Regions from separate parts of the Homo sapiens genome. Here regions 2, 3, 4, 5 and 6 are each linked to region 1. The links are contacts of gene promoters, found by promoter capture Hi-C in blood cells and fetal thymus (Javierre and others, 2016). All regions are on one chromosome and are shown on one strand. The core of a region is centred on a gene start or on the middle of the fragment in contact, and the rest is flanking DNA. Distances in the headings are between cores, read along the strand shown. Region 1 holds the start of ALG12 (ALG12 alpha-1,6-mannosyltransferase). Region 2 overlaps MOV10L1 (Mov10 like RNA helicase 1). Region 3 overlaps MOV10L1 (Mov10 like RNA helicase 1). Region 4 overlaps MOV10L1 (Mov10 like RNA helicase 1). Region 5 holds the start of MOV10L1 (Mov10 like RNA helicase 1). Region 6 overlaps TTLL8 (tubulin tyrosine ligase like 8).

What was found. Contacts are between HindIII fragments. The CHiCAGO score rates a contact against its expected background, and 5 or more counts as called.
Region 2: a contact is called between a fragment that was not itself captured here and the fragment with the promoter of ALG12 in region 1, in 7 of 17 cell types (endothelial precursors, monocytes, erythroblasts and 4 more). The highest score is 8.1, in endothelial precursors.
Region 3: a contact is called between a fragment that was not itself captured here and the fragment with the promoter of ALG12 in region 1, in 8 of 17 cell types (M1 macrophages, neutrophils, erythroblasts and 5 more). The highest score is 10.3, in M1 macrophages.
Region 4: a fragment that was not itself captured here is called in contact with the fragment with the promoter of ALG12 in region 1 in 3 of 17 cell types (M1 macrophages, endothelial precursors and erythroblasts); the score reaches 8.4 in M1 macrophages.
Region 5: a contact is called between the fragment with the promoter of MOV10L1 here and the fragment with the promoter of ALG12 in region 1, in 6 of 17 cell types (M1 macrophages, erythroblasts, M0 macrophages and 3 more). The highest score is 12.5, in M1 macrophages.
Region 6: a contact is called between a fragment that was not itself captured here and the fragment with the promoter of ALG12 in region 1, in 7 of 17 cell types (M0 macrophages, endothelial precursors, erythroblasts and 4 more). The highest score is 11.9, in M0 macrophages.

What each region holds. Positions count from the first base shown.
Region 1 is chr22:49,916,908-49,919,870 of GRCh38, reverse strand. It overlaps ALG12 (ALG12 alpha-1,6-mannosyltransferase), which reads left to right and starts at 1,433. Exons shown (of 10, transcript NM_024105.4): 1 at 1,433-1,608. It overlaps CRELD2 (CRELD disulfide isomerase 2), which reads right to left and starts at 1,237. Exons shown (of 10, transcript NM_024324.5): 1 at 973-1,237; 2 at 559-641; 3 at 31-141. The coding sequence starts at 1,101. RefSeq lists silencers at 1,034-1,533, 1,644-1,843. The HindIII fragment of the contact is 6,188 bases long and covers 1-2,963 here.
Region 2 is chr22:50,161,535-50,164,497 of GRCh38, reverse strand. MOV10L1 (Mov10 like RNA helicase 1) reads right to left here. Exons shown (of 27, transcript NM_018995.3): 27 at 2,811-2,963. Among named protein-coding and RNA genes, the nearest start is that of PANX2, 7.7 kb to the left of the region's middle. The HindIII fragment of the contact is 4,494 bases long and covers 1-2,963 here.
Region 3 is chr22:50,138,193-50,141,155 of GRCh38, reverse strand. The region is part of intron 15 of MOV10L1 (Mov10 like RNA helicase 1); the gene reads right to left. Among named protein-coding and RNA genes, the nearest start is that of PANX2, 31 kb to the left of the region's middle. RefSeq lists a silencer at 1,094-1,278. The HindIII fragment of the contact is 7,627 bases long and covers 1-2,963 here.
Region 4 is chr22:50,119,908-50,122,870 of GRCh38, reverse strand. MOV10L1 (Mov10 like RNA helicase 1) reads right to left here. Exons shown (of 27, transcript NM_018995.3): 10 at 2,255-2,369. Among named protein-coding and RNA genes, the nearest start is that of MOV10L1, 31 kb to the right of the region's middle. The HindIII fragment of the contact is 2,305 bases long and covers 228-2,532 here.
Region 5 is chr22:50,088,425-50,091,387 of GRCh38, reverse strand. MOV10L1 (Mov10 like RNA helicase 1) reads right to left here and starts at 1,382. Exons shown (of 27, transcript NM_018995.3): 1 at 1,203-1,382. The coding sequence starts at 1,299. The HindIII fragment of the contact is 7,134 bases long and covers 1-2,963 here.
Region 6 is chr22:50,050,329-50,053,291 of GRCh38, reverse strand. All of the region lies in intron 3 of TTLL8 (tubulin tyrosine ligase like 8), which reads left to right. Among named protein-coding and RNA genes, the nearest start is that of TTLL8, 6.5 kb to the left of the region's middle. The HindIII fragment of the contact is 3,160 bases long and covers 1-2,963 here.

The DNA of each region.
Region 1 (2,963 bases), core at 184-2,683:
GTATCTTCTAAGAGGTTTTAAGGCACTCACAGCTGCAGCCACCAGGCCTCCAGGTGCTCCTCCTGCGCCTCTAGCATCTGATTGCATTCGAAGTCGCTGCTCTCGCACAGCCCCTCCAGGATCTCCAGCAGGCGAATCTCGCTGAAACACAGGCCCACACCGGCCCACCGTCAGCGCCTCCAAGGCAGTGAAGAAAAATCCGAACCAATACGCCAACCTGGGTGCAGGGGCCGGGGAGCCAGGACTCCGGGCACAGAGAATAAGGGGACCCCACTGTCAGGGGAAGCCAGGAGCGGTTCCCACAAGTGGGGCTGGTGTTCCAGTTTACATTTTGAAAAGCCACTGTCTGTTGAGGGGGTAGGGACCAGAGCAGAAGCTGGAAGGCCAGAGAGGGGCCAGCCATTAGTCCTCAGGGAGAAGCCGAGGTGACTCGGACGGGTGACTGGTGCCTCGGGGGCTGTTCTGTCTCCCTGTCATTAACACAGGCACCAAAGGCAGGACACGACTTCCCAGGACAGCGCCAGGCCAAGACCCACAGGGGTGCTCCAGGGCACCCACCTGGACTCGTACTTGGACAGCGTCTTTTCCTCCCAAGCCGTGTTCCCGCCGCCAAAGTTCTTCTTTGCGGTGTCCACCATCCCCTGCGAGGAGACAGTGCCCATAGTGCTTGGTACCACCTGACCCGGGTCCAGGGTGGGGGCGAGCCCAGGTCGAGGGTGAGGGGACTCCAGGCCCACGGTGGCGTCGACCCTGGTTCCACGGTGGGGGTGGATCCGGGTCAAGGGTGAGGGGGACTCCAGGACCACGGTGGAGGGACTCTGGATCGACGGTGAGGGGGATCCCGAATCCAGGGTGAGGGGGACCCCGGATCCAGGGTGAGGGCGACCCTGGGCCCAAGGTGGGGCGACCCCGGATGCAGGGTGAGGGGGACCCCGGGCCCAAGGTTGACGACCCCGCCCGGCCCCTTCCCACCTGGTTAAACTTGTCCACCAGCCCCCGGCACCGGTGGCAGGGCGTCGGCTTCTTGGCGGCCTCCGGCGCGGGCGGCAGCAGCAGCAGAAGCGGCAGGAGCCCCAGCGCGGCCCGGCGCGGCAGGCGCATGGCGGGTAGCGCTGCGGGAAGACGCAGCCGGAGCTCCAGGTCCTGCGGCCGTGCTGCTCCGGCCTCCCGGCCGCCCACCCGCTCCCAGCCGCGCCGGCCTGTCCCCCAGGCTACTTGACGGCGCCGGCGAGGCCCCGCCCCACCCGCCAGCCCCGCGCCGCTATTGGTTGATGGGACCCGCCCCGGCCTGATATGGCCCAATCCGAGTTCGCCACGAGAGGTGACCAATGGGAAGGCCCCGGATCAGCGGCCGCCAGGAGTCCGGGGGCGGGGCGTGCAGGTCCGACCCCGCCTCCCGCTCCCCGCCCCTCGCGCGCAGCCCGCGGCGGCCATCTTTACTCAGGGCACAGAGGGTCTCTGCGGCCGTAGCGGCCGGGGCTGCGGTAGCCACTTTAGATTTGGGCAAGGACTTTAGATTCGGGCTCTGTTCTGTTTCCGCCGTCCTGCTTCCTGCCGAGGCTGGCCCAGGCAGCCGCGCTTCGAAGGACGCCGCCGGGAGCTGCGGAGGTCAGTGCGCGCTGCCGCGACCGGGGCCTTCAGGCGGGCGCGCGGCGAGACCAGGGAGGAGGCGGGCGAGGGCGCGACCCGAGCTGGCGCTGGCGCTGGATTCCTGAGGCCTCACCGCGCATGTCCACGCGTCACAGCCCCGTGCTCCTTACCTGGGGCTGCACCCCTCACTTGGGGCCGGGCTCCTCACCTGGGGCTGGACCTGTCACCTGGGGGCCAGACCTCTCACCCGGGGGCCGGACCTCTCATCCGGGGGCCCGACCTCTCACCTGGGGCTGGACCTCTCACCTGGGGCCGGGCTCCTCACCTGGGGCCGGACCTCCCACCTGGGGGATGGGTTTTTCACCTGGGGGCTGGGGATCTGGGGTCCACTTAGGGTCTCTGGGGGCTGGGGATCTGCATTTCTACAGGCGCTTGAGGTGATGAACACTCGCTCATGTTCAGGAACCCCTGGTTTAAATTAGGGGAAATAAAACGTGCAGCGTCTGGATTTCAGAGAACTCCTGCCTGTGGAAGGAAGGAGTGCAGATAACACTGCACATTTAAAAAAAAAAAAAGTAACATCTGATTTGACCAGTTTCTTTTCTGTTTTTTTGAGACGGAGTCTCACTTTGTCGCCCAGGCTGGAGTGCAGTGGCGCGATCTCAGCTCACTGCAAGCTCCGCCTTCCAGGTTCCTGTGATTCTGCTGCCTCAGCCTCCTAAGTTGGGATTACAGGCACCCACCACCAGGTCCGGCTAATTTTTGTATTTTTAGTAGAGACGGGGTTTCACCATGTTGGCCAGGCTGGTCTCGAAGTCCTGACCTCAAGCGATCTGCCTGCCTCAGCCTCCCAAAGTGCTAGGGTTACAGGCGTGAGCCACCATGCTTAGCCTGATTTGATCAATTTCGGTAGAGGCCTTAAAATCTGGATTGATGGGGACAAGAGGGTCTTTGCAGGTCATTCCCTAATCTGAGATGCCATTGTTCTGTAAACCACCATTTTAAAGTGTCATGGCCTGGGCCCGTTTTAACCTGTGGGTGCTCTCGAAGCACCCGTCACTTAGATTAGCCACAGCTGCTGCCCAGCTGCCCAGCAGAGTGGGCTAGTGCAGGACAGTGTCCGTTCACCCTCGCCTGGTGGGGGGTTCGTCGTGGTTTTCGTGCTTGCTGGTGTTGACTTGGTCTTCCCGTGCTCCTGGCAGAGAATCCAGACTCACCCTTGGTCTTCTCATGCCCTCGAAAGTGAGCTGTGCTGGTCATCAGCAGAAGGCACACCTTGTTGGGTCCGAGGAGGTGCTGGGGGCCCGCCAGGAGTGTCAGAGTCAGCACGTAATGTTTTCACCCCACAGCTGAACTCTTCCTTGCTGGGGAAC
Region 2 (2,963 bases), core at 219-2,718, 240 kb before region 1:
AGAGCCTTCGCATCAGCGATGTCACTGGCTTTACACACCTGTGGTGGTGAGGGAGGTGGGGGTGAAATCCCGTTCTGTGCCCAGGAGAGGAACAGAAAATATTTGTGATGCCCACACCTTTCAAACCTAACACATTTTGCATTAGGATACAAATATGGGGGGGAGTGGAATAGAAATATGAGTTCAAGGAAAAGAAGAAATAAACTTTCTAGCTGTGAAAGAACAGCTTGCTGGTGTCCTCTAAGTGGATGATGGTATCAAACTGTAATGGCATTTTTTGTTGCACTGGATACACTGAAAAGGAAAATGGCAAGATTTGGGCCGGGCGTGGTGGCTCATGCCTGTAACCCCAGCACTTTGGGAGGCCGAGGCAGGTGGATCACCAGGTCAGGAGATGGAGACCATCCTGGCTAACACGGTGAAACCCCGTCTCTACTAAAAATACAAAAAATTAGCCGGGCGTTGTGGCAGGCGCCTGTAGTCCCAGCTACTCGGGAGGCTGAGGCAGGAGAATGGTGTGAACCCGGGAGGTGGAGCTTGCAGTGAGCCGAGATCGCACCACTGCACTCCAGCCTGGGCGACAGAGCAAGACTCTGTCTCAAAAAAAAAAAAAATAAATAAAAAAAAAAATAAAATAAAATAAAAATAAATGAAATGGCAAGATTTATAATAAGCTGTGACTTACATCATAAGCACGTTTAAAATGTGAAGAAGAAAAATCTTAGATAACCAAAAAAACGAGGGAAGAGATGCACTCCCTTAAGGTTTCATTTAGGGGACTCCAAGCACCAAAGTTTAAGACCTCTGTGTAGCAGCCTGGCCAACATAGCAAGACCGTCTCTACAAATAATAATAAACAAATTAGCCAGCTGTGGTGGCACACGCCTGTGATCTCAACTACTTGGGAGGTTGAGGTGGGTGGAACACTTGAGCCCAGGAAATCGAGACCAACCTGGGCAACATGGCGAAACCCTGTCTCTACAGAAAATTAGCCAGGTGTGATGGCGTACACCTGTAGTGTCAGCTATTTGGGAGGCTGAGGTGGGAGGATCACCTGAGGCTGGGAGGTTGAGGACGCAGTGAGCCATGATTGTGCCACTGCACTCCAGCCTGGGCAACAGAGCAAGACCCTGTCTTAAAAAAAGCCCCAAATCCTGTGCAGACGACACCTGCCTGCAGGCCCCACTTGCCTTTGCTTCCCTTGCCTTGCTTTGCAGGGATTCATGGCTGGCTGAGCAGTGCTGCCTTCCCTGTAGCCTGGGCCCCTCCAGGGCAGCCTCCTCACTGACCTCCTTCTCTTCCCCTCCCTCCCTGTCACCTGACAGCCTCCCTGCCACTCTTGCACCAGCAAACAGGTGCCCCGAGTCCTTTATAGAATGACCCCGCCTGGTCTCCTGCCACCCTGGGCACACGCCAGATCATTGCTGAGGTGTCCCCCAGCTGAGGACACCTGCCCAGCCTCAACACTGGCTCCCCACGTCTCTGCCCAAGAGCACTCCCTCAAGTGTGGACCCCACACCTGCTTCTTGCGTCTCTCCCACCTGCCAGGACATCCAGGTCACTGAGCCCAGAGAGGTGGCCTCTCAGTGTCAGGGCTGACCCCAATGATCCCCTCACCTGGGTCAGAAAAGTCCCCAGCCTCCGTGGGGGGCATCCCTTCGATTTGGGGTTGACAGGATGGAGAGGTCCTTGCCCTAGGACTTCTGCTCTGCAGAGAGAGTCCAGCAAACGCTGGCTGCAGGAGCACTGGGCACAGCGGCCTCCACGCATGGGGGCTCTGCCTGGGCCTCCACGCACCCCTTAGCACAGCAATGACAGCTCTGCCTGGAGAAACCCTTCAGTTCCTAAACACAACTCATGCAGAAGCCACAGCAGGTGATGCCGCATGCAGTCCTGGGCCCTGACATGACGCCGCCTGTCTGGAAAGTGCTTCCTCCTACATCAAGTACTCCCTGGAGTTGTGACCACAGATCTTAGCATCACCCACAAGTTTAGTAAACAGACATGATCCCTGGTGTCTTGAGACCTTCAGGAGACAGTGGTTTCTGCTTGCCAAGCAGACGCTACCTCTAAGTGGAGACACTGAGCATTTGTTTCCTGGGAGCAAGTCGTGGGGGAGGGGGTGGGGGAGGGTGCAGGGCAAGGCTCCCAAACTTTGAGGTGGGCCAAGCCTGCACCCTTCTAGTCGGCTGCTGGTCTGTGTCTCGCTGTGGGGATGGGGGCATAGGCCAGGTAAGACCCCCCGTAAAGCGGTGTTGGCCTCCTCTGGGGCCCTGGGTGTATGCAGGCGGCATCTCCGAGCCTGGGGGTCCTGTGTTCCAGCCGGGCTGCTGTACTGAGACCCTGCACCAGGCTGAGGACAGTGCGGGGCTCACCCCAAGTGTTCTTCCTGCCACTGCTCTGCTCCTCCTGGCCTGAGGTGCGTTGCCCATCTCCACGTGTTTTATTTCTGGCCCAGAGATGTGTTCTAAGGACCCCTAAACTCAGTACCCCTAGGGTGCAGGCCTGCACCCAGGAACCCGCCCAGCTGCAAACTCCCAGAAGCACTGGGCCTAGGGCAGGCCTGAGTGCCACCCTCACAACCCTGGCCCCATGTAGAGCCTCAGGCCCTGTGGGCTCTGCATGCCTGGTCCATGGCCCTGGCGCTCTGCTGAGTGGAGCTGGCAGCCTTGCCTGGAGCCTGACACACGGCTAGTTCAGGTGAAGTGGACAGCAAGCCATCTCCAAAAACTGCGCCAGCAGGGCTGAGAGGCCACATGAAACCCTGGTCACCACTGACACGGGCACACATCTCGAGGTGGAAAGGCTTCTGGGGGTCACTCGAGGGTTTATTTCAGGGTAGGCGGCAGTGACTGCCCTGTGGCAGGAACAGGCTGGCATATGCCAAAGTCAGGGCAGCAGCAGCTGCGTCCAACCTGGCAGCCCCACACCCACACACGACCCTGCCTGGCTGCGAGACAAGG
Region 3 (2,963 bases), core at 327-2,826, 220 kb before region 1:
TAGCTTGAACCCGGGAGGTGGAGGCTGCAGTGAGCCAAGATCGTGCCACTGCACTCCAGCCTGGCGACAGAGCGAGACTCTGTCTCAAAACAAAAAAAAAAAAGGATCCTACACAAGAATTGGTTTTCTGTGTGTTCCAATGTAAGTAGTATTTGTCCTGAACCAGTGGGATTTTCAATTTTTTTCATTATGATCTGTAATTCTTTGTTAAATAACTTCATTATTTTCATAGGATAGATTCTGGAATCTATAAAATCAAAAGTTCTGGGGCCAGGGGTAGTGGTTCACACCTATAATCTGAGCACTTCAGGAGGCTGAGGTGGAAGGACTGCTAGAGTCCAGGAGGTCAAGGTTGCAGTGAGCCATGATTGCGACACTACACTGCAGTTAGGAGGACAGAGGAAGACTCTGTCTCAAAAAAAAAAAGTTTCACGTTAAAAAATTTACACACATTGCTAAGTTTTAGTCTAAAACAGGCTTGTCCAACCAGCGGCCCATGGACTATATACAGCCTAGGATGGCTCTGAATGCAACCCAACACAAACTCGTAAACTTTTTAAAACACTATAAGATTTTTTTGTGATACATATTTTTTTCAGCTCATCAGCTATCATTAGTGTTAGTGAATTTTATGTGTGGCCCAAGACAATTCTTCTTGCAACGTGGCCTAGGGAAGCCAAAAGATTGGACACCCATGGTCTAGAAGGTTATGCCTATAACCTCCTCCCACAACCATTGTGTTTTGCAGAGTGTGACTGACATACAATAAGGTGCACATATTTAAAGTGTGTGACTTGACAAGTCTGACGTGCACATACCCATAAAACCATCAGCACAATCAAGATGACAAATAGACCTGTCAGTCCCCAGAGCCGCCTTGTGCCGCAGCCCCTCCAGTGGCACTGGCTGGCTCACATGCTCTCGAACTTCATACTTCATATAAATGCACACAGTGTGATTCATTGGAGAGCCACCTGTGTTGTTGCATGTCAACAGTTTGCTCCTTGTATTGCTGAGTCATGTTCCATTGTACGAACACAATGCAACTTGCTTATCCATTCACCTGCTCACGGACACTGGGTTGTTTCGTTTTTGGTGATTAAAAACCCAGCTGCTGTGAACTTTGTGTATGGGTCCTCACGTGGCCTTATGTCTTCATCTCTCTAGAGAGAAATGGCTGGGTTGTATGGCAGGTGCGCGTCCAGCTTCTTAAAAACACCTTTTGCACAGTGGTGTGCCACTCCCCATTCCCACAGCAGGGTACGTGCCAGCGGCCCCACGGGCTCACCAACGCGCAGATGGCCCAACTCAATTTCTGGCCATTCTAGCAGGTGTTCAGTGGTACCTCATTGTGGTTTAACTTGTGTTTCCCTAACAACTAATGATGTTGAACATCTTTCATGTGTTTATTACCATCTGTATGTATTCTCTGGTAAAGTGTTCAAGTGTTTGATCCATTATAAAAAATTGAGTTCTTAGGCAGTTTGTAGAGTACTTTCATATGTTTTCCGAATACAAGTTCTTGATCAGATGTGATTTGCAAATATTTTCTCTAGTCTGTCACTTTTCATTGTCTTACCAGTGTCTTTTTTTTTTCTTTGTTTTTTTTTGAGACAGAGTTTTTCTATGTTGCCCAGGCTAGCCTGGAACTCCTGGGCTCAAGAGATCCTCCAGCCTCAGTCTCCTGGGTCACTGGGACTAAAAGTGTATGCCATTGTACCTTACTGTCTAACAATGTCTTTTCAGCAGCAAAATATTTAATTTCACTGAAGTCCAATTTATCCATTTCTCTGTAAGTCATGCTCTTAGTGTCACATAAAAAAAAATCCTTGCCCAAACAGAGGACGTGCAGATGTTCTTCTATGCTGTTTCCTAGATGCATAGTTTTAGGCTTGACATTGCGGCTATAAACCGCAGAGTAAGTTAGTTTTTGTCTGCGCTGTGAGCTATGGACCCAGGTCCATGTTTTGCGCGTGCCCTGCATTTACAGACCACGTGAGGTAAAACAGGTAACTTGATAATATGGAATCTTCCGGCCCAAGAGATACTAATATCTCCCTCCATTGATTTACGTCTTTTGTTGCCCATCTTTTGTCAGATGTATCCCTAATGTTTAAAACATTTAGGTGCTACTTAAAAAAAAAAAAAAATTCAGGCCTGGCATGGTGGCTCACGCCTGTAATCCCAGCACTATGGGAGGCTGAGGTGGGCGGATCATGAGGTCAGGAGTTTGAGACCAGCCTGATCAACATGGTGAAACCTTGTCTCTACTAAAAATACAAAAATTAGCAGGGTGTGGTGGCACGCACCTATAATCCCAGCTACTCAGGAGGCCGAGGCAGGAGAACTGCTTGAATCTGGGAGGCGGAGGTTGCAGTGAGCCGAGATCCGCCACTGCACCTCGGCCTGGGCAACAGAGCGAGACTGTCTCAAAACAAACAAACAAAACACCAAAAAACAATTTCTGAGTGTTTACTGGAAATATATATACAACTTATTTTTCTACACTGATCTTGTATCTTGCAAAATCACTTATTAGTTCTAACAGCTTCATTTTAGATTCCATCAGATTTTTTTTCTTTTCTATTTTTTTTTTTTGAGACAGGGTTTCACTTCATCACTCAGGCTGGAGTGTAGTGGTACAATCACAGCTCACTGCAGCCTCAACCTCCCAGGCTCAAGGGATCCTCTTGCCTCAGCCTCCTGAGTAGCTGGGACTACAGGTGTGTGCCACCATGCCCAGCTAATTTTTAAACTTTTTAAAAATAGAGACAGGGTCTTGCATGTTGCCCAGGCTGTTCTCAGTGATTTTCCCATCTCAGCCTCCCAAAGTGCTGGAATTACCGGCACGAGTCACCACACCCGGCCTCCATCAGACTTTCTACAGGATGCGGATGCCTGTTCTTTCTGCTTCATTGCCTGTCTACAATGCACAATGCTGGGCAGAAATGCTGAGGAAACAT
Region 4 (2,963 bases), core at 131-2,630, 200 kb before region 1:
TGCAGTCACAGCTGTGAGCTGTGATTGCGCCACTGCACTCCAGCCTGGGCGACAGGAGAGCCTGTCTCAAAAATAAATAAATAAATAAATAAATAAAAAAGAGAAAAAGGAAAAGAAGAAAAAGAAAGAAAGAAAGAAAGAAAGAAAACCATCACCTCAAAATGATGAAAGTCATATATGAAAAACCCACTGTTAACATCATACTCAATGGTGAAAGATTGAAAGCTTTTCCCATAAGATCAGGAACTTCCAAGGGAAGGATGCCTGCTTTCACCACTGCTATTCATCATGGTACTAGAAGTTCTAGCCAGAGCAATTAGGCAAGAAAAGGAAATGAAAGGCATCTAAATTGGAAAGGAAGAAATAAAATTATCTGTTTGCAGATGGCATGCATAATTTTATATGTAGAAAACTCTAAAAGATTCCACAAAAAACTGTTAGAATAAATAAATTCAGCAAAGTAGCAGGGTACAAAATCAAAGGACAAAAATTATCTTCATTTCTAAACAACACTGAAGAATCTGAAAAGGCAGCTATGAGAGCAATGTATTTACAACAGCAGCAAAAATAATAAAATACTTACAAATTAATTTAACCAAAGAAGTGAAAAACATATACAGAGAAAATGACAAAACACTGCTGTAAGAAATTAAAGAAGACATAAATAAATGTTAACACATTCCATGTTCATAGCCTGGAGGATTCAATATTGTTAAAATGTCCATACTAACCAACGCAATCTACAGATTCAATGCAATTCCCATCAAAATTCCAATGACAGGCCGGGTGCAGTGGCTCACACCTGTAATCCCAAGCACTTTGGGAGGCTGAGGCGGGAGGAATACTTGAGGCCAGGAGTTTGAGACCAGCCTGGGCAATGTAGTGAGACCTCGTCTCTGGGGAAAAAAAATTCCAATGCTATATTTTGCAGAAATAGAAAAATGCATCTTAAAATTCGTATAAAAGATCTTGAAAAGCAAAATAAATTCTGCCAAAGAACAACAAAGCTGGAGGACTCAAATTTCCTGATTTCAAAACTTACTACAAAGCTGCAGCATCAAAACATCAAGTCGGTGGCCTGTGGAAGGAACTGAGGAGCACCCTCCAAGCCCAGCAGACCTGGGTCCCCAGGGAGGAGCTGAGGAGCACCTCTCCATCCTAGCAGACCCAGGTCCAGCTTTTTCTGCCACCTCGATGAACCATTCAGGCATTTGCCTACAAACTCAAAGTGACTGGGGGACAGAGGACTGCGCTCGCGACTCATGGCAACCTCCCTGCCCAGGATCTGTGAGTAAAACACATCTGAACTTGTTTCTATCACGGCAGTGGATTGAATTTGCACCTTCCATCCTAAGAACCCAGCACTGCCCAGGCCGGGTTTTCCCTGGCATTGGGGAACATAAGTTTGGGCTCCCAGTGCCAGATGATCAGGCAGGCATAACCTGGATACAGGTCAGACGAGAGCCACTGGGGCGTCTGCCAGAATAAGTTTCCTGCGTGAGGAACCCCGGTCATGGGGCATCAGCTGTCCTCCTGGTAAAACAAGGACATTTTTTTAAACAAGGAGGTGTATTTGGAAAGGATCCCCTGAAGGGCGCATGGTGAACACCTAGGTCCCATTCCCTTCATTCTCCTTAGGACAGGGCTGCCAGCTGCTCTGGCACTGGAACTCCAGTTTAGCTGGGGACTCTCAGAACACCTCAAACCCCTACAGAAAAAAACCCTCCTGGACAAAGGGCAATGTTCTCCCCTCAAACTGCCAAATTTATAGACTTTTCTTCCTTCTTGAACTTTTCTTCTCCACCTACCCCACTCAGAACGTGCTCCTCTGTCTCCCATGTGGGTGGGGACCTGGGCTCTCCTCCCCTGGACCCTTGCCCTGCTGGCTCTGTCAGGATGATGGTAAAAGGCTAGAACACTTCTTGCTCATAACAAAGGCCTCCTAGTCTAGCGAGAGAGGCCAGGCTGATGGCAGAGGTATCCCTCAGTTCTTCTGCTCCAGACCCCAAAGGCCCTGTGCGTGACCCCCAGTGAGGCTGTGGGATGCCAGCCCCTGGTGTACAGCAGGTCTGGCAGCGTGAGTGCTATGGTGCCTCATCCCTCACGGCCAGGCAGTGACCCTCGTTATCCCAGCTACCTGTGAAGAAAACAAGCCAGATGAAGGTCTGAACCTGAGAAGGAACCTCCTGGCTTTGTCAGAAAACAAGAGCATTAGAAGATGCCAACACCCCACAGGCCATGAGACACTTCCTACCTCTGCAAGTAATGGCTGGAAAGTCAGGATGTCAATTTTTTGTTCCACACATTTTCTAAGTCTATCTGGGATTGGATATTGGGGAAGAAAACTTGGAAGTTGTCGTCTTGAGTTCCTTAAAAAATTAAGTTCACAAGTTAAAAATAAGTCTTTATCACCAGGTATCACTAGACATTCTTACCTAAACATCCTTTCCTATTTTAGGAAGACCAAAGTCCATCCATTTCCTGAGAAGAACTGATATATGAATAGCTGGTCTAAGGCAGTGGTTTGAAGCTTTCGTTTTAGCTCTGGGATCCTTTCCTCAAACAGTTCCCACAAGTGCTCTACTATTTGTAAACAGGTAAGTGTAGCTGCACAGGCTGTGGGAAAACAGGGCTGGAACCCCCAGAATCTCCTGGAACCAGGAGTTTGGAAACAGCTGTTTTTAACATTCTATGAGCTAAGCTCTTCCTACTATATTTGACATCAGGACTCCACCTGGGCCTATCCCTGCAAAGCACACATTAGGAAAAGGCTGCTCTGTCTGGGTCCTGCCTTCGATTTGTTTTTGTTTTGTTTCCCAGCCTGTGGTTTCTCTGGGGAAATTCAGTTTGTTCAGGATGAAGAACATCGCTGCTCTGGAGCCAAGCCCAATGCGGCAACAGAAACAATGGGAAAGGGACAGACAGGAGAGGAGAAGCCAGGAGAGAACAGGGAAACGAAAAGT
Region 5 (2,963 bases), core at 133-2,632, 170 kb before region 1:
AGTCTGGCCCAGGAGCAGCGCACGCCCTCAGCCGTCTGGCCACTGCTGCAGCCACGGTCCTGAGTCCTGAACGTGCCTTTACTGCAGCTTCCCAGCCACGGGAGGAACCTGGGGCGACGGTTACAGTACAGGCATAGGATCTGAGCGCTGCCAAGAGCTGGAGCTCCAGCTACCGCTGAGCGCGTGTTCTACCGAAGAGATCCACGGAGCAAGTGCTCCAGGTAACACAGCCGGCCCCCCGGGCATCGGCCCTCGTGGATCCAGAGGCCCTGAACACGCTGCCTGCAGCAGGAAGCTCCCCTCCTGAAGCCTGTTCCTGTCTTTTCTCACAGAAGGCAATTAGGGACCCACTACTGTGGATTCCATTCCCACATAAGGAAACATCGGGAGAAGCCATCAGAACCTCGGGAGAGGTCGGGCGTGGTGGCTCAAGCCTGTAATCCCAGCACTTTGGGAGGCCAAGGTGGGTGGGTCACCTGAGATCAGGAGTTCGAGACCAGCCTGACCAACATGGCGAACCCCCCCTCGACTAAAAATACAAAAATTAGCCGGGCGTGGTGGCGGGTGCCTATAATCCCCGCTGCTCGGGAGGCTGAGGCAGGAGAATCACTTGAACCCAGAAGGCGGAGGTTGCGGTGAGCCGAGATTGCGCCACTGCACTCCAGCCTGGGCAACAAGAGCGAAACTCCGTCTCACACACACACACACACAAACACCTCAGGAGAAAGGAACGGTGAGGGCATCCGGGCGCATCCCGGGCTTTAGAAAGATGGGCTTGAAAACCAGACAAGGAAATGGCACGCCTTGGCGCAGCGCGTTCTGAAAGGACAGGCCAAGTCTGCGGGGCCGCGTTTTTCGGGGCTTTCTAGACACACCACCGCCAATGACGCTGCGGACAGGGAGGAACGACATGGAGAGACGACTTGGCAGCTGCTCGGCGTAAACACACAAAGTGAGGGCGGGAAGAGGGGCTGGTGTCACCGGAGAGACCTCACAGAGGACGGGCGCCCAGAGCGGCGGGATGCTGTGGGGTCGGAAGCCTCCTGAGGCGAACGGGGATCCCCGCCAGCGGAGATGAGGAAAGGCCGGGCCCAGCGTTGCCTGCCGGCCCGCACTGCACTCAAAGACCTATGGGCGCGGCTCCCTCGTGGCCGACACGCGAGGGCCCGGGACCCGCCTCCCAGCCGCCTCCCGCGAGCCACCTTCCGCGAGCTCGGGCTCCAGCTGCCCGGCTTCCTCCCTAGGGGTGTCCGCCGTCCTCCAGAAGAAGGCCACCAGCTTGGCTGCGAGGCTCAGCATGGCCCTCGCCCGGCCTAGGCTGCCGTCACCGCCGCTGCCGCCGCCCGCACGCGCCCGCGCCGCTCCCGCCGCCCGCCACCAATGGGGTCGCCGCGCCTGGGCATGCGCCTTGGGGTCGTTGCGCGAGCCGGGACCCGTAGCGGTCAGAGGTCGGCGGTTGGCGCCTGGCAGCTCCTGACAAGGCGAGGTGCCTGGTGGGAGTGACGTCATGCCGAGCGCGCAAGGCGGTGTGACCGCCGGGTGGGCGGGGCTTCGAGCGGGCGGGCGGGGCCTCGCGTGGGTGGGCGGAGCTTCGAGCGGGTCCGCCTTCTTGCCGCCCACACATTAGGGAAAAGTGCGCTTTCACCACCCAGAGTGATGTTAGGAGTCGTTTTTTGTTGGTGTTTTTTATCAAGTTGAGGAAGTTCCCTCTATTCCTGTTTTTCCAAGAGTTCTTATGAGTGGGTGTGAAATTTTCTGCAACGCTTTTCTGCATGTATTCAAATGATCCTGTAGCTTTTTATTTCAGCCCATAGGGAATTACATTGTTTGGCTCTCCTTGGAAAACTCACTTGGTCACGATTCGTTATCCTTTTGGTGTATTGCCTGACTCAGCTTGGTAACGCTTTGTCCAAGGTTGGGGACGGTGCTGGTGAAGCAGATTGCTCTGTGGCCGACCTCCCGTTTTCTGTGTCTGTCTGGTTTGGGGTCGGTTTAAGCCGGGCCTGCAGTGACCTGGGAGTAGGATGGGGTAACTTATTCCCTAAAAATTGTGGTAGTATTCGCTGGGGAACCCATTTGGGCTTCGAGATTTCTTTGTGGGAAGGTTTTTAATGAGAAATTCACTTCTGCATCAGCTAGAGGGCTATTCAAGTTATCAAGGTAATATTGAATAAACTTTGGTAATTCTTTTAAGGAATTTGTCCATTTCATCCAATTATTAGATGTCAGATTATTGGCATAAAGTTGTTCAGCATATTTCCTTATTATCCTTTTAACGTCTGTATGGTCCATAATGATGAGCCATCTTTCATTCTTGACATAGGTAATTTATCTCATCCCTCTCATTTTCCTTGATCAGTCTATATTTATCAATTTTATTGAGTTTTTAAAAAAAATCATCCCTTGATTTCATTGATTTTTCTCTATTTTAAAAATATCTTTACACTTTGCGAGGCCAAGGTGAGCAGATCACTTGAGGTCAGGAGTTCGAGACCAGCCTGGTCAACCTGCCAAAATCCTGTCTCTACAAAAAAATACAAAAAAAATTAGCCAGGCATGGTGGCGCATGCCTGTAATCCCAACTACTTGGGAGGCTGAAGCAGAAGAATCACTTGAACCCAGGAGGTGGAGGTTGCAGTGAGCTGAGATCACACCACTACACTCCAGCCTGGGAGACAGAGCAAGACTCTGCCTCAAAACAAAAACAAAAACAAAATACGTATATATATCTTTACTATTCCAGTGGTTTCTGTTTTTTATTATTTCTTTTTTTTTTTTTTTGAGATGGAGTCCTGCTCCGTCGCCCAGGCTGGAATGCAGTGGCATGATCTTAGCTCACTGTAGCCTCCACCTCCCGGGTTCAAGTGATTCTCCTGCCTCAGCCTCCAGAGCAGCTGGGATTACAGGCGTGCGCCACCACGCTGGCTTTTTTTTTTTTTTTTTTTTTTTTTTTTTTTTGTATT
Region 6 (2,963 bases), core at 141-2,640, 130 kb before region 1:
TGCTTTACGCCTAACATTTTGTTAATTTATGTAACAGTTGGTGTAGAGTGTGCTTTTTTTTTTTTTTTTTGAGATGGAGTCTCGCTCTGTCACCCATGCTAGAGTGCAGTGGCACAGTCTTGGCTCACTGCAACCTTTGCCTTCCAGGTTCAAGCGATTCTCCTGCCTCAGCCTCCTGAGTAGCTGGGACTACAGGTGTGCACCACCATGCTCGGCTAATTTTTGTATTTTTAGTAGAGACGGGGTTTCACCATGTTGGCCAGGCTGGTCTTGAACTCCTGACCTCAGGTGATCCACCCACCTCGGCCTCCCACAGTGCTGGGATTACTGACTTGACCCACCGTGCTCCGCCAGAGTGAGCTGTTTATAGCCACTAGAGTAGAGTTTGTTATTTGAGTTGTTCAAATCCTCTAAAGTCTTATGGAACTTATTGGTCTGTGCATTCTATCAATTACTGAGAGAAGCAGGTTAAAATACCCTATTATAATCTTGGGTTTGTCTACTTTGTAGTTCTAGTTTTGTTTTTTATAACTAATGCCTTCTTAATAGGTGCATACACATGTATCTTTCTAGTGAATTGAATCTTTTTAAAATTATGAAATGGTTTTCTTTACCTTAGTAATGTTTATTTGTCCCAAAGACTATTTTGTCTCATATTTCTATCTTTTCCTTTTCTACCCCATCATCTGTATACCTATGTGTTTGATGGTCTCTTTGCCTTTTGTCTGGAGCATTTAGTGTATTTATCTATAATTAAACCGTTGATGTATTCAGGTGTGTCTGTTATCTTCATTCATTTAGTACGTTCCTTTGGTTCAATTTTCCTTTCCTCTCCTTTCATGTGCTCTCCCGGACTGGTTACTTTTTAAATCCCCCTTTCCCCTCTCTTACCTGTTGGAAATCTTACGCTGTTTTTATTCCTTTGGTGGTTTCCTTAGGAATTGTATTCTGCCCATCCATTTTTCTAAAGTTACTCAGTTTGACCACAGCTAAGCAGGGTGTTGGGGGTGGCAGAGTGTCTTGTGGAGTCGGAGGGTGCCAGCCCTCTTGCGGACTGTCCAGCTCCCCCACCGTTCTCCCCAAAGCCTCGGGTGATAGGCTCATTCACGTGCACAGCCACGTGGGCGGGTGACAGGCCTCAGACTGATTATCGGAGTAGACAGCGGCCCAGAGCGGTGCTGGGACCAACCAGATGTCTCGTGTGGGTGCTGGGACTCAGACTCGGGGTTCCCAGAGAGGTGCTGGGACCGACCGGATGTCTCGTATGGGTGCTGGGACTCAGACTCAGGGTTCCCAGCTACAGCTGTAATTGTGCCGCTTCGTCCGCTGTGTGCCTGGGTGTGGGCATGGTCTTCTTTGAGCAGATGTCTTCCTGCCAGAGCACAGTTTGTCTCCTTCTGCTTTGAAAACTCCTCTTACAGAAAAATAATCAACTTATTTTTCAATTCCTTGACTTAAAATACTATACAAACAGCCAACAAACGTGAAAAAGCGCTCAGCATCACTAATTCTCAGGGAAATGCGAATTAAAACCACAATGTGATACCACCTTCCTCCTGCAAGAATGGCCATAATGAAAGAGTGAAAAAGTAATAGAGGTCCGCGTGGAAGTGGTGAACAGGGAACACTTTTACGCTGCTGGTGGGAATATAAACTAGTGCAACCACTGTGGAAAACAGCGTGGACATTCCTTAAAGGACTAAAAGTAGATCTACCATTTGATCCAGCAACCGTACTCCTGGGCATCTACCCAGATGATAAGAAGTCATGATACAAAAAAGATACTTGCTCACGCATGTTTGCAGCAGCTCAGTTCACAACTGCAAAAATATGGAACCAATCAAAATGCCCATCAACCAACGAGCGGATAAAGAAACTGTGGTGTATCTGCACCACGGAATACTGCTCAGCCATAAGAAGGAACCAGATAATGTCTTTTGCAGCAACCTGGATGGAGCTGAAGGCCATTCTTCCAAGCGAAGTAACTCAGGAATGGAAAACCAAATATCGCTTGTTCTCATAAGAGGGAGCTAAGCTATGAGGATGCAAAGGCATAAGAATGATAAGATAGAGTTTGGAGACTTGGGGGAAGATTGGGAGGGGAGAGAGGGATAAAAGATTACATATTGGGGCTGGGCGCGGTGGCTCACGCCTGTAATCCCAGCACTGTGGGAGGCCAAGGTGGGCAGATCGCCTGAGGTCAGGAGTTCAAGACCAGCCTGGCCAACATGATGAAACCCCATCTCTACTAAAAAATACAAACATTAGCCAGGCCTGGTGGTGTAGCAGGATGAGCCACAGACAAAACTCCTCAGACACCGGATTAAAGAAGGAAGAGGTTTTCATTCGGCCGGGAGTGTCAGCAGACTCGCGTCTTAAGAACTGAGCTCCCAGAAAAGGAAATTCTTGGCCTTTTTAAAGGCTTACAACTTTAAGGGGTCCACGTGAAAGGGTCGTGATACATCAAGTAAGCATGGGAAACGTGACTGGGGGCTGCATGCATCAGCTAACAGAACAGAAAGTTTTACAATGCTTTTTTCATGCAGTGTCTGGAATTTACAGATAACACAAGTAGTTTAGGTCAGGGGTTGATGTTATTATTATTACTTTTTTTAACTCCTAGGGCTGGGTGGTGGTGCCAAGGTTGTCTGGCTATTTATCTTACTTTTCTTTTCCCCCAACTTTTTGCTCTTTCTCTCCTCCTGTCTTGTGAACTAGGCAAGGTGGGGGAGGAGGGCAGCAGGAGTAGTAGTGGTCTCCTTCCTTAGTGGCAGGCACCTGTAATCCCAGCTACTTGGGAGGCTGAGGCAGGAGAATTGCTTGAACCTGGAAGACAGGTTGCAGTGAGCTGAGATTGCCCCACTGCACTCCGGCCTGGATGACAGAGTGAGATTCCATCTCAAAAAAAAAAAAAAAGGACATATTGGGTGATGGGTGCCCCCAAATCTCAGAAACCAGCACTA